2 separate regions of the Homo sapiens genome follow, and region 1 is linked to region 2. The links are contacts of gene promoters, found by promoter capture Hi-C in human tissues and cell types (Jung and others, 2019). All regions are on one chromosome and are shown on one strand. Each heading gives the region's core, a stretch centred on a gene start or on the middle of the fragment in contact. The rest is flanking DNA. Distances are from core to core; before and after follow the strand shown.

What was found. The method cuts DNA at HindIII sites, captures the fragments that hold promoters and counts their contacts. A contact is called where the count stands out against the background at its distance.
Region 1: a contact is called between a fragment that was not itself captured here and the fragment with the promoter of OSBP in region 2, in 1 of the 25 tissues and cell types used here (aorta).

What each region holds. Positions count from the first base shown.
Region 1 is chr11:59,093,590-59,101,011 of GRCh38, forward strand. It overlaps LOC105369315 (a long non-coding RNA gene), which reads right to left. Exons shown (of 3, transcript XR_007062680.1): 1 at 4,043-7,422; 2 at 3,730-3,857; 3 at 2,665-3,321. It overlaps GLYATL1B (glycine-N-acyltransferase like 1B), which reads left to right. Exons shown (of 5, transcript NM_001355566.1): 3 at 1-66; 4 at 345-522; 5 at 780-1,197. The coding sequence ends at 1,197. Among named protein-coding and RNA genes, the nearest start is that of FAM111B, 9.9 kb to the right of the region's middle. RefSeq lists enhancers at 1,457-2,048, 4,171-4,340 and a silencer at 3,448-3,557. The HindIII fragment of the contact is 7,120 bases long and covers 2,236-7,422 here.
Region 2 is chr11:59,611,001-59,618,363 of GRCh38, forward strand. OSBP (oxysterol binding protein) reads right to left here and starts at 4,774. Exons shown (of 14, transcript NM_002556.3): 1 at 4,303-4,774. The coding sequence starts at 4,664. LOC101927226 (a long non-coding RNA gene) reads left to right here and starts at 4,954. Exons shown (of 3, transcript XR_001748237.2): 1 at 4,954-5,175. RefSeq lists silencers at 4,407-4,626, 4,647-4,946 and an enhancer at 5,147-5,236. The HindIII fragment of the contact is 17,268 bases long and covers 1,105-7,363 here.

The sequences.
Region 1 (7,422 bases), core at 4,546-7,045, 520 kb before region 2:
AAAAATCACAAGAAGTTTTGAAAAATTCTGAGATCATAAACTGGAAACAGAAACTCCAAATCCAAGGTAACAAGTCTGAAGAAATGGGCAAGCAGCTGTGCTTCTCAAATTGTGTCTTCAACTAACAGCATTAGCATCACCTGAGAGCTCATTAGAAATGTAAATTCCTTGAAATTCTCAGAGCTGGGAGAGGTGGAGCAATCTGTGGTGTGCCAAGGACTATAGCTGATTGTGGTGTAAACTCAACTTTGAGAACTACTAAGCACTGAGGCATTAATCAGGTGTGAGCAGTGTAAGTAGAGAACTGCATGTCTGACAATATTGCTTTCTTGGCTTTCTCTCAGGTTTTCAAGAAAGTTTAGGTGAGGGGATAAGAGCAGCTGCATTTTCAAATTCAGTGAAGGTAGAGCATTCGAGAGCACTCCTCTTTGTTACGGAAGATATCCTGAAGCTCTATGCCACCAATAAAAGCAAGCTTGGAAGCTGGGCTGAGACAGGCCACCCAGATGACGAATTGGAGAGGTACAAAAAACATGTGCTGATCATTTATAATTGCTATTCCTTGTACATTTTTGTAATTCACATAAATCAGTTTTGGAATGAAGAGAGGATGAATTCATTCCTTGGGATGAATAAAGGTTGTCAGTGGTCAAAATACGCCACTTTGCAATGGTGGGTCTTTTAACAAGAAGAGGGCCTGGGATCTCTAGAATGGAAGGGCACCTAGAAATTACAGGAGTGGGGATGAAAGTTGTTGTCTTTCTTTTTGTTTTCTACAGCGAGACTCCGAACTTTAAGTATGCCCAGCTGAATGTGTCTTATTCTGGGCTGGTAAATGACAACTGGAAGCTAGGGATGAATAAGAGGAGCCTGCGTTACATCAAGCGCTGCCTAGGAGCCCTGCCAGCAGCCTGTATGCTGGGCCCAGAGGGGGTCCCGGTCTCATGGGTAACCATGGACCCTTCTTGTGAAATAGGAATGGGCTACAGTGTGGAAAAATACCGAAGGAGAGGCAATGGGACACGGCTGATCATGCGATGCATGAAGTATCTGTGTCAGAAGAATATTCCATTTTACGGCTCTGTGCTGGAAGAAAATCAAGGCGTCATCAGAAAGACTAGTGCACTAGGTTTCCTTGAGGCCTCCTGTCAGTGGCACCAATGGAACTGCTACCCACAGAATCTTGTTCCATTGTAGACAATGAAGCTGCTTAGCAATCTTGGGCAAGCCATCTCTTAATATTAAAGCAGACACCACAGAATAGCTTTCTTCACTTACAAATGTTGATTGGGCATTTGTGATATGGCAGGAACTCTTTCTCACATGGAGACTTGATGTTAAAGGACACAGCCATGCTCTTGAGGAGCTTACAATCCAAGCTGGAGGCAGGGGAGGGTATAGTCTTTAAATATGCTTAAGTGTTGTAGGGAAGGACAGAGTTACCAATAAACATGTAACTAGAAAGCCAGGCTCAGTTCTTACCTCTGGGAATCAGAACTCTTTATGAAACTTGGTTGATAGAATCTACTATCTGGAAGATAAATGAAGAACTTTAATAAAATTGTCAATAGAATATACCTAATCTATATGGATACTTTATTGGAAAGAAATACCCCTGTTATGTATGGATTTATGAGGCAATGGCTATACTAAAGAATGGAATCAGTCTCTTAGTTTAGTGTCTAGCAAGGTATCAAAGGTGAAGCCTCAGACAAATGGCTTTCTTAGGCTACCTTTCATCATTGTTATGCAGAAAAGGATCTCCAGAGAATCAAGTGGGCTGGCCTTGAGGCCTCTGTTATGGAAATGACATTTGTTGTGCCTCCTTTCCCCTACTCTTTCTCACTTCCTCATCATTAGTGAAGCATGGCACAAGATAAGGTGTTGCCTGTGAGTCTGGCTATAAATTCAGCTTACGATGTTTGCAGCACTGCTATCTTAAGGGGTCAAGGGCATTTCAGGGGGAAGTGACCACTAAGGTGAAGACTGGAGAGTGAGTAAGAGTGAGCCATACAGTAAAAGTGGAAAAATCCAGATGATGGAAAGGACACGTGCCATGCACTATCATAATAACTTTATAATTGAACACTTATATTACAATTTCTGAACCCCTGATCTCAAAAAAAAAAAGAAAAATACACTTCATGAAAAAAACGGGGCCTCATTTGGCTCCGCTCTCCCCCCCTGTCATTGGAGCTTGGATTACTGTGAACATTGTAGCCACAGCAAAAAGAAAAAAAAAATTGGCATTTTTACTCCTTCTGATAGTCTAGATTTTAAAAAACAAAAGAAATCTTAATAGAATTGTCTTTTGGAGTAAAGCCTACCAGTATTAATCAACACCTCATCTCTCCATAGAAAATAACCCCCCACAAAATTGAATGTTTATACTTGATGTGATTTGAAAGTGTGCAATTCCAGCACCTAAAGAATAGTGTAGGTCATGGAGTTTTTAAGAAACTCCAATTCATCTTAGAAGGCTGTGGTAGATCTGTTACCGCTTAGTATAAATCAATCCAATCAGATTTCTAAACTCCTGAGACCTGGCTGATTTGTTACATTGACTGAAATGAAAGCATGGTCTGAGAAAGAGAGTAAACATGTCATTTGGGATTTCAAAGGGTGGAAAATTCTTACCTAAAAAATAAACTCAGGAACTTGGGGTAATATAAAAACAGCTATATTTTGGCACTCAAGAGGCAAAAGCTAATATATGTGATGAAAGAACACAAAGCAAATAAAATTTGACTATTTCAAAATGATGCCTCGGGCAGGTCCTGTATCCAGAAGAGGATGTTCATCCAGGGTCTGGGGCTAAGGTCATCTTAGCACAGCCCAGCTGCCAGCTTCCCTCCTCTGCCGCTTCCCTGAACGCAAACCAGCTTCCCTTATCTAGCCCTTCGTGGACCTGTTAAAAAAGTGATCCCTAAACCTTATCATGCACTTGCATTAAAAAAACAACAAGAAAGCATGGGAAGGATGAAAGAGGATTTCTTAAATATGGCACAAGTAAGTCCAACATTATCAATAAACACACTAACAATGAATGGGGTAATTTTCTTATTAAAATATATGTTTTTCATACTGAGTTAAAAACAAAATCCAAGAAGCATACATCTCTGTGCCCTCACATGGTGGAGACAGAGGAGAGCTCAGACTCTCTTCCTTTTCTTAGAAGGACTTAATACCATCAAGGGGGCTCCACCCTTATGACTTAATCTAAACCCAATTACTTCTCAAAGGCCCACCTCCAAGTCCGTTGGGAGTTGGGTCTTCAACATATGAATTTGGGAGTCACCGTCAGTTCATAAGGAAGCATATCTGAAATAAACAACACACAAGGGTTCACGGAAAGGAAGAAGATATACTAAATGAACGTGAAACTGAAAAGCAAAGTAATACCATCAACACTTGGCAAAATAGAACGTAAGTTGAACATCTGCTAAATACAGAAATTCTCCCACAACATAGGTCATGAATCTGCCTCACAACACAACACAACTACAAACTATACATGGCAAAAGCTGACAGACATACAAAAGAAAAATGCAAATCCACAGTCTCAGTGGGAGAACTCAAAAAACTTCCCTCAGAAAGCAACAGATGATGCTGACAAAAAATAAAGACAATTTGACAAACTGCCATCACAACTTGCTATTTCTGGTGATGTTGGGGTTATCTGCTTATTGTGTATTTGAGAACTTCCCTTCATCTGCTTGTCAAACTGACCAGCAGGTGGTGCTGGGGAGGGAAACACTCCATCTGGAGAATGCTGGCAACTTGTCTCTTAAGTCTAGAGGCTCCTGGTCCCCCTCATGATCATCACCTATCAGGCACAAGCACTGCTGATACAGGAGCTAAAAAGAAATTATTAAGCAGTTAGTGTAGGTAAGAGAGTCCTCAGTAAGGTTTTTCTTTTAATAAAAAGCAGCCCCCATATAATCGCTTTTCTAGCGAAAATCAGCCTAAAAAATCAAGCCGCAAGCATGCTAAAAGCTTGCATAGGTAAATGCCGGCACCTATGCAAATAGAAAAGGGATACCTGGAAGTCAGGCGTACTCAACATAGAGGTTTCCTCTTCCTATTTTTTTTTTTCAGATGGAATCCTGCTCTGTCACTCAGTCTGGAGTGCAGTGGTGCATTCTCAGCTCACTACAACCTCCCCCTCCTGGGTTCAAGCAATTCTCTCCCTCAGCCTCCTGAGTAGCTGAGATTACAGGTGCCCACCATCACGCATGGCTAATTTTTTTTTTCGTGTTTTTTTAGTAGAGGCAGGGTTTCACCATCTTCGCCAGGCTGGTCTTGAACTCCTGACCTCTCGTGATCCACCGTCCTTGGCCTCCAAATGTGCTAGGATTACAGTCATGAGCTACCACGCCTGGCCGCCTATTTCCTTTTCTTTGTCTTCACTTGTGCAGGCGACACGGCACAGGCCAGGTAGAGGCCCCGTTTGCATACTAAAGATTCATGTGGGATGGCCAGGCTCTTCGTGCATCACATAAATAGCACACCTGCTCCAACCAACCCTCTGAGCCCTATGTAAATCAGACACTGCCTCCTCAAGCTCCTCTATAAAACCAACCACAACTCGCCCCAAACCCGGAAACCTGCTCAGGCACCCTTCCAATGCATGAGGAAACTCTCTCTTTGTTCTTTTGCCTATTAAACTTTTGCTCTTAAACCCACTCCTTTGGTGTCCACATCTACAATTTCCATACTGTGAGACAGCAAACCTCTGGCATTTCCCCAGACAAACGATGCCGCTTCACTGCCATCTCAAGCCCAAGTGCCAAAAATGACCACTTCAGCCTGAAGAATGCCATGGCTGCCACCATGCTGCTTAGGATAAGCAAAGACACAAAGATGAAGTGGGGACGGGTTTACTAGAGAGGCTGCAATAAAAGCATATCCCAGGCAACTTTCCACTTCTTAACTTCTGTCATTTTCAAACTTAAAGGTGTTTTTTTTTTTGTTGTTGGTTTGTTTTTCTTTTTAACAGTTTCTATTTCTGGCCAAAAGACTGCTCTTTGTTTTCCTGCTATGACATATTTATTCTTTGTTCTAAAGTCTTTTCCATGATTTCATATAGGAACTAAGAAGACAGCCAGGTGTTTGCTCAACATATTGATCCCCTCTCCACCTAGAACTCTCTTTACTCTTTCTCCCAGGAAGATTCCACCCCTCCTGTTCTGCCAGTTTCCTCATATTTGCCTCAGACAATTGCCCTTGTAGGCAGATGAACCCGGGCCAGTTCTACTTTACTATGGACACCAACTCTTCTGAAATAACATCTGAGTCTTGGGATTTGCATATGAATCTTCCCTTGACACAGCAAACAGTCTTTCCTTTTACCTTCACTAAAGTCATCTACTTGGGAGAATGGAGAGCACTAAAATTCTACAGATTTCAAAACCAAACCTGCTGTGCCTTTCCAGAGTCCTTGGAATGAAAAAGAGAAAATAGGTTAGAAGGGATATTTTCTCCTTCCTTCCTTACCCTGAAGGAGCTCCTATTTTTAAAGGGAATCATTGGGGACAATCCAAAAGAAACTCTTGCAAATCAAGCTTTGCCATGCCACCACGAGAAGGGTAACCTGTGTGCCCAGTGGTGAAATTTTTAAACTTTGGTAATGATCTCCAGGTTCACCCCTATGGATAACGAAAATATTTTAAGAACCTATAAGGGTGCCAACCTTTCAGAACCATGTCTCTTTGCAAGGACCTACCAAGGTCTAGAGATCATAGCACCTCACTAGCAGCCTACAGGCATTCTCCAAAGGTTCCCACCTGCCCCACCCAACACACACACACACACACACACACACTCACACACACACACCCTGCTATCCTTTGGCCCTAGATTTCACCTAACTTTGTTCTAAATCTTAATCTCCCTGTGCCCTCAAACTCATGTGTTATAGGGCCTTGGTAATCCCTTTCTAAGCATATTCCCTGACTTCTCAAATACTATTTATGAGACATATATCTAAAGTAAAACTATATTTCAGGCCAGATCAGCACGCTTCTTATTACAATTATAAACACTGAACTTCTTAGTTGCTGGGAAAATATATTAAAAAGGCATTATTATGCTTTTATAGCCATAGATTATCTAGGGAAAAGTATTGAGTGTCTCGAGAATGAGTGAAAATTCTTTCCCCAATATACACTTTTTTTCTTTTGCAAAGTATATCCTGCATATATTCAAAAGATAATGTTTTTCAAAAGGGGAAATTGCCTCCACTGTGGACTCTTATTAATTCACTTATCCCTCAAGTTCTCTTATTAACTCACTTATACATCATATTCCCTTATTAACTTTTTATTCAATCACTGGTATTTGTTTCTAGTGCTCATAATTGAACACAAATTTTTTTACTATTATATAAAATAAAGTAACAGCTATTCACCATTTCCTCCTTTACCTCAATAAGTTGATATCTTCCAATAGATTCATTTCCCTGTTTTGCTCCCTCCTCTGATCCAGACGAGTGTGCTAAGTGATACAAAATGCTTTTATTCCTCTACCGTTCAACCCCCTGAGACCGATGTTTTAGTTCCATGTGTTTTAGTTCCAGGTGTCACAGAATTTCCCTTGCAGTGTGTCGCATCCATTTAAAGAATCCTTCTTTAAAACTTTTCTTACACATTCCCAGAGAGCCTATCATTGTCCATTTAGAGTTAATTCTCTACATAAAATTTGTCAATTTTTTTTTACTCACCACTGTTTCCTCTCCTTATTTTCTGCTCCTATCTGAAATCTCTGTTCCTATTTGATTAGTTAAAATTGCTTCTTCAGTATTTTCTGCATGTAAATATGCTACCAATATAATATCTGAAGACTCTCAAATCCACAAATATCTTTCTTTGACCCTCACAAGAATGTAATTTCTGCAGCCTTATAAATTGATTTGTCTTTTACCCTCAAGTGACTGATTCCCTATGACATCACATTTTAGGATGACCAAATATAATTTTCCACTTTATACATAAGATATAAAGGTACAAAGAAACAAGGTAACCTTGAACCTTCATTCAAGGTCACAAAGCTAGCAAAAAGTGGATGACTAGCGATGAGGGCTTCAAGTTGAGATTAACAAACAACAACACAGGATATAATAGGATTTAACCCAACTTCAACTTCATAAAATGAATGGACATTCCCTGATCTTCCCTCCACTCCCACCCCCACCTCAGGGGATTTCAGGATGTACCCGGCAAAGCTGTCTTCCTCCATCCCCAACCGTTTCTCAGGCAGTGACGGGTGTTAAGAACTCCTCACTGCCCTTCTTGAAGCTTACATTCTGGAGCAGGGAGGCAGAAACTAAACCAAAAATTAAAACAACTCTGAACATATTCCCTATAAACTCAGATGTAGTATATGAAAAAAAAACACATGATTTGATGACAGAAGATGATGGAG
Region 2 (7,363 bases), core at 3,524-6,023:
GGTGTGTGCCTGTAATTCCAGCTACTCAGGAGGCTGAGGCAGGAGAATCGCTTGAACTTGAGAGGCGGAGTTTGCAGTGAGCTGAGATCCCACTATTGCACTCCAGCTTGGGCAACAAGAGCGAAACTCCGTCTCAAAAAAAAAAAAAAAAAAGAAAGAAAGAAAGAAAGAAAGAAATAGGCTATACTGAGGTATAACTACATGCAATGTTAATTTAGCAATTTTAAAGGTACAACTGAATGAGTTTTGACAAATGTACACAAGTGCATAACCACCACCACAATCAAGATGTAGAACATTTCTATCATCTCAGTAAGTTCCTTCATGCCCTTTTGCAGTCAGGAATTATCTTTTACTTAGCAAGTTGTAATTATAAATTGCCCTATAACCTCATGCAACAATCTCATTTCCTAAGAATAGCTCTATTTTATATATACCAAACCATCTCGCTCCCGACTGTAACTCAGCCCAAATGAGAACTCAGCCCAATGTTACATCATGCTTAGAGTTATATCGCAGAAGTGTAAAAAAAGCACCCTTAAATGTTTAGAGTATTAAATATTGGCTATGGTTCAAATGATATGAAATAAGAATAACTAGCTTTCTGGGGAAGTAAAAAGGAATCACCAAGTGTTTTAATCTTTCTGGAATATGTTCATTCCTAAGGTCCACCATACTCTACTGGTGGGAACTCCTAAGCCGTCTATTAATAGCTAGGAAAGATTCAGCAGATCTGCTCTCAGAGAACTGGGTGTAAAAATTTTCCCGATCTCTAGTGACTGACAGTTCTATTAATAGACTAACTTTTGAACTTTACAGCATTACTTGGTGACAACAAGCTATAAGACACTTCACATAGAATACCAAGCTTCACATAAAATATCAAGCTTCTAGCACAATCGAGTGTCTAACACAAACTGTGTCATTTCCCTACCACCCGCTGGTTATGCCCAGGAACCTGCATGTTGAGACTGCACTTTTCCCTGTCCAAATTGGAACACAGAGGTCAAAGTCCTTTGCCAACTGCCACAGTACAAAGCAGAGCCATTTCCCTTTCAGTGGAGTCAAGCAGCCAAACACACCTGGCATATCCAGAATTCCTGCATGCCAGAAATGGCACACACCCCATAAGATTTGGTATGTTTGAGAAAGTCTGGAAGACAGGTTTGTTGTTCAATTTTTCACATGAACTGCTCTTCCTTCCTCAAATAGTATGGGAAGGCCAGAAGGGTCTCAATGAACTGGGCCATTTTCCATCTCCTGCACCTGCCACACTGTAACATGAATCCGTTTTTTCTATTCTTACCTCCCCACCCCCAAGCTTCAGTTACATTATGAATAATGCAGGCTGAATTACAGATGCACAGCTGACAGGCCAGCTCGCTCATGTTTTCTACTCCAAGTATACTACTTGGACCTTCCTCCACATTCCTCCTTATTGGAGCTTTTTGGAAACCACTTCTTAGGAATCTCTTCTGCCTGGGTCATCATTGTAGGAATCTCTTCTGCCTGGGTCATCATTGTAAACTAAAGAAGTTTCTCAAATTACAAAAAGTCTGTAGCAGTTTAAAAAATACCAAGGAACTCTGGGAGTAAGGCAGACTTGATCTCGGAGCTCTTGAGTCTGGGCAGATACACTTATGATTATAAATGATTAGTGCAGAAGCTGGAAAGACATGAATCTCAGGGTACAAGATAGGTTCTTCAGGCACTACAATATTAGGTGGTATTTTCTGGCCAGAAAGTTCTTCCCTGAAAAGGCTAGCTGAAATAGTAATTCAATCTCTAGAAGCTAGCCAGGAGAACTAATACTATGGCCTGTCACAATGTTTCTGGGAGAGTTGGGATTCCATATAAGGTTTTAAGTAATGGGACATCTAAGTAACTGGGTACGTAAGGAAGCCCAGGATAGGTAAAGGAAGTGGTTTGCCAAGGCCTATTAGGACAGCTCATCCGAGGATGGGTCTAGGAAGTACACAATCCCACTTAAAAGGAAAACAGTATTTTGGAAACAGCATATATAAGAAACTGCAGGTTTTGGAGGTATGAAAAGCAGGAGGAATGACAACTTGTCTAAATAATTCTTGGAGGAAGATGAGGACCAGAAGAATCCTGCAGGAAAAAATAAACTGCCAGTATACTTGATAGGAGGTATTTCAGTGCAATTTTGAGGGTAGTGCACAGATTGATAACTCTGGATCCCGCTGGTTTGTTTATGGGTGGGACCACCTAAGTTGACTAGGGCAGGCCTATGGCATATTTCCCAATATGTGGTTTGGTATGTTTTGGAAGGAGTTTTATATGTAGTCAGACAGGTACCACTAGCTCTTGTAAGGGAGAAGTTAAAAGTGGTAACAAATACTTAAAGAGACAGCAACATGTAAGTTATTAGTGTCTAAGATCACTATTGATCAACACTAGTACTGATCAAAGAATCAACTGGCCTGGAAAGTGGATCCGGTAAGAACTTGGATGAGAAATGACCACATACGAAGGCCCTGAGGTGATATACAATTTTTGAAAATGCAAAAACAGTATTAATATTGACTTGCGACACAAGTCAGGATATAAATCAATTAAACATTAAAATGATGGTCAATAATAACAGGAAAACATGAACTTGAATGAGAGAAAAATCTGGGGAAATTAAAATTTTAGATTTGTAATCTAAGTTTAAATGGATGGTCCTGGATAAGTAGTTCGAAAGGGTCATAATTAAAATCAATTCTGAATACAGTAATGCAAATGAAATATACAATTATTCACAACTGTTGATTAAGCAGTGAGGATGAGCTATCTAAGGCATTTTGCCCTGTAAGAGGACAGGTAAAAATGTGTTCCTGCCAACAACCTCCAACTCCCACCTTCAATTTCTCCTCAAAATTCTCTAAGAGCCAATACAGTGGAGTTGATGGAAAAGAGACTTGTTCAGCCTAACTCTCTGGGTAGCAGAATGATTCCTGGTGAAGGAAAAGAAATATAGAGTGAGCTGCTCTTCAACATCAGTGTTTTGGGTCTCAAAGAGGATGGTCTCTGGAAAAAAATATTTCAATTGGAATGTCATTAAGCAAAATATCCCTTAAAGGAGACTTTTATACTTTTTGCATAAAATACACATAGTAAGCATGATCCATAAAATTACTTGCTATTGATAAGCAATTATCTCTGTAACTGACCGATTCATTTCACACTAACCTGAGTTTTAGGTTAGATTAGTGTGAACAGAAGTAGTTTCAAATCCCAGCTGCTCAAAAACCTTGGGAAAGTTGCCCATGCTAAGTCTGTTTTCCTCATCAGTAAGATGGGAATATTTCCCAACTCCTAGGGTTGTTGTTGGGAGTCAACAAAATACTATAATGAAATACTGTATATAAAACACCTAGACACATTGTCCAGCCCTCAGGAAATGTTTACGCCCTGTCCCCAAATCACCTATCTTAACTCCTCTATCCTTTTTAGCCCAAAAGCGTGCCATGTGATGGCCAGGTTATGAGTCACCATAAATATATATTAAACAGTCCAAAATAAACCTTGTTGAACAGAAGTAATCACACCAAAGACATGGATTCTTCTTTTAATAAAAGTTAATCCTAACTAACCAAAAAATCACAGAAATGCCAGATAAAACACTTAATCATTTCCACGGGAGGAGGTGGGGCAAGCAAAAATAAAAGCAGCACTGGGGTGCACATCTCCATTCTGGGCTGTCCAGAGGCCAAAGCACATGCAAAGTCTTGGAGAGATAAGGCAGAAAGGGGACGGAATACCGAAGCCACCCTGTGTGTGTGATGCCCTTATGTCTGAATGTGAAGGGAGCAAGGACGGGTACATCCAGAGCTACGAATAACCTTGAGTTTTGGAGACTGGGCACTGACAGCTACAACTTGGGACTTCCACTGTAAGTTCCTTGGGAGGAGTGCCTCGGGTTTGTTCTGCTGCATGTGTTCCCTTAGTACCTACACCAGTGCCTTGCTTGCAGAATTAATAATTGCACCCATGTGCTGGTGGAAATACAATGGAAGCACAGACGCTCTCCAAACGACTAATGACTGGAAAGGCCGGGAGCGAAGGGAAGATAAGGCACCAAGAGTGGGTAACCCGAGGGGAGGGGAGGTGTACGTCCAGGGGCTTTTCACTTTCGTGACAGTGGGCTCCGACCCCTGGGCTGTCAATCCGCACAGATGACGAAAAGGGGCCTGGGGCAACCCTGGCTGCGGTGCCGGCTGGCGGTAATGCCGGAGCTGGGACTGTTGGCAGATATGGGGGAGGCAAGGTGAGCGACAGCGCCCCGGAAGCAGTTACCTGTAGTAGCTCAGGAGCCCGTTGCTCAGCACGAACCATCGCCGCTGGTAGCCTTTGATATAATTGGTCCATTTGAAGAGCCAGCCCTCTCGAGCCGAGCCCGAACCCCCAGCGCCCGAGCCGCCCGAGCCCCCAGTCGGCGGCGCAGGGGCCGGGCCAGCCGCCGCCACTCCCCCGGCCCCCGGGCCCGGGCCTCCCGCCGCCGCCGCGACCACCGTCCCTGACGCGGCCCCGGAGCCTGGCCCCGCATCTCCGCGGCCGCCGCCTCCTCCCACCACTGGGGGACCGGCGCCGCCGCCGCCAAGTGCTGCAATGGCTGCCGGGCCTGGCCCCACCACTCCTCTCAGCTCCGTCGCCGCCATGAGCCGCCGCCGCCTGGAGATACAAGACCGGAACCGCCTACGAGAGCCGCCGTCGCCGCCCGGAGCGCCCCACACGGCTACCGCATCAGCCACCGCCGCGCAGCGTCCCCGCCCCGCCCGGCCAGCCGCGGGGAGGAGGGCTCGGCCGCCGGGAAGAAGGACGTCGATTGGTGCCGCTGAGTGTCACTTGAGGAAGACCCCGCGGATATTGGCATTTCTCTCGGGCCTGTCATTCTACAGCGCCCAGTGAGAGCCTGGGGTGGGACGCGTCCGCCAGACCCACCTTTGATTGGTTCAGATAAAGGCCAATCAGACTTTTGGGGAAGCTCATTGGTGCTTTCCTGAAGTTTCCAGCGCTCAGGGAGGACGGGAGAATGCGGAATGCCCGGCCAATCTGATCGCCGATTGGCTGCTGTTTCCGCCATTCATTTCAGTTTATGCGCCTGTCACTGCCACGTCACCCCCTCCCATCGCTCTTCTCATCATCCTTTTCCGCCCTCATGGATTGGTGGTTGGTATCAGCTGCTCCACCTTTTCTACCATTTACTGAACGAGTTGAGGAAAAAGGGAAGGAGTCTCGTCTTTACATCCTTATTTTCTTTTTTTATTGGTTGGCACCTATGCCACTCACGTGGTGGAGAGGCGGGGCAATAGTTGGAGATGATTGGTTCTGAGAATTGGCTGTGAAAGCGGCATTGCTGACCAGTGAGAGAGACCTAATGAGGAGCAGGCCGGGGCAACCAATGAAATCGGAGAAGAGCGCTTGGGGGCGTGTCCGCCTGCTTTCAGCCTTTGGCAAGTTGGTGGGAGGTGAAAGTGACTTGGCCTCTTAAAAGCGTTTTTTTCACGTGGGTGTGATGTCGTGTTCCGTTTTTCTGAATAAGAACTTCGTAGCTTCTTGTTAGGAAGAACCTGGAGGACAGAGTAACTCTCGGCAGTCAGCCCCCGCCTGAGGCTCTCTTGAAGGACCCCCTTCTAACTCGAAGCTGGATACCCAGATTCCAGGGGTGCCCAGAAGTAGCTTTTCCAGCCCCTTCCTGGATCCATGGTCCCCCTAGTTCCCTTCCCTGTTTGCTCTTTATCGCTCCACACCCCTTGTGTCTTGATTCTAGACTGTCATATGCCTATACCGATTCTGTCCCCTTCAGAAGTAGATTCGCGAGGACCTGACTTTATGTGTCTCTTCCAGACCTAAAGGCCCTTGGTTTTAGCATCATAGGTGCCATGTATATGCTTAACTTTGAACAGAAAATTATTATTTTTTGTATCTTTAAACTGATATATCGTAGTTGTACATATTTAACTTTGGACAGAAAATTTTTTTTATATCTTTAAACTGATATAGTTGTACATATTTTCAGGGATACATCTGATATTGTGATACATGTATTCAATGTATAATTATCAAATCAGTGTAATTGGGATATCCATCATCTCAAACATTATCTTTGTGTTGGGAACATTTTCTGCTATGCGTTCTCTTGTAGCAGGAAATCGTTATTTTTGATCAACTGACTATTCACACATTTGTGAAGATTACAAATTCAGTAACTAATGTAACATTTAGATGTAAGCTATTGTTGCAAATGTAACCTAAAGCGCCGTACTTTAGGGAATCTAGCATCTGTTACATTTTGCTAGTTTGAACAGGCAATAGAAATAGCTATTAGATACTGTAAAAGAAATTGACTTTCTTTGCCAATGTGCTTCCCAGTGTCAATAAATTAAAGTATCCTTTTTAAGAAAATCGTTTCAAAAGAAGCGAAGTATTTATTGAATTCTGGAGAGAGAATACTCTTTAAAAATCTGCAATTTTTACTATCAGGGATCATTTGTATAGCTCATTACTAGTGAATTTCTCTGAATGTGTAGAGCAAAATAAAATCTGCTATTAGATGTAGGCTATTTGGGATTAATTTTTTTTTTAACTGAGCTAGAGTTAATCCATTTAGGCTTGAGTCCTGCTTTTGCTACTTACTGGGTCTATTACTTTGAGAAAATTATTTAAGCACTCCAAGTCTCAGTTTTCACTTATGTTAAACAGGAATAAAACCTCACAGGGATGCTGTTGTGATTAAGTGCGTTTGAATGTGTTTGATAAACTGTAGATAGCTACAAACATGTGAGTTGTGTTGCCAAACACATCTCACAGGTTACTTGCCATCACAAAGGAGAAACATACTTTTACAATGGGGAGATCTGGCAGTCCCCACCTTAACCCAGTTATCCAATGTGTATCAGTAACCCTTGGACAACCAACATTTTTATGAAGTTCCCAGTGTGCTGCAGCATAAAGTATACAGCATCACTTAATGGTGTTTTCTTGCCAAAATACTGAAAGTTAATCTAATCAAGGCTTTGGATCTAAACTCCAGTTTACTGGGCTGGAGGAACCAGTTGAACCATAACCCCAAGGAGATAATCAGATAAATCAAGAACGTGAAGCATTCTATAAGACAACTATTTTATAGAAGATAAGACATAAAGATCAAGGAAAATCAATGTCATAAAAATGGTCAGGGGTGATTGTTCTAAATTTGAAAAAAAACTTAAAGAGATACAATCAAATGCTTAATTGGATTCTGGTTCTGAAAAAGCAGGCTTTTAGACATTTTTGAGACAATTGGGGAAATTTGAAAATGGACTGGTATCAGATGTTGTTAGTTATTACATTTGTTCATTGTAATAATGGTATGCTG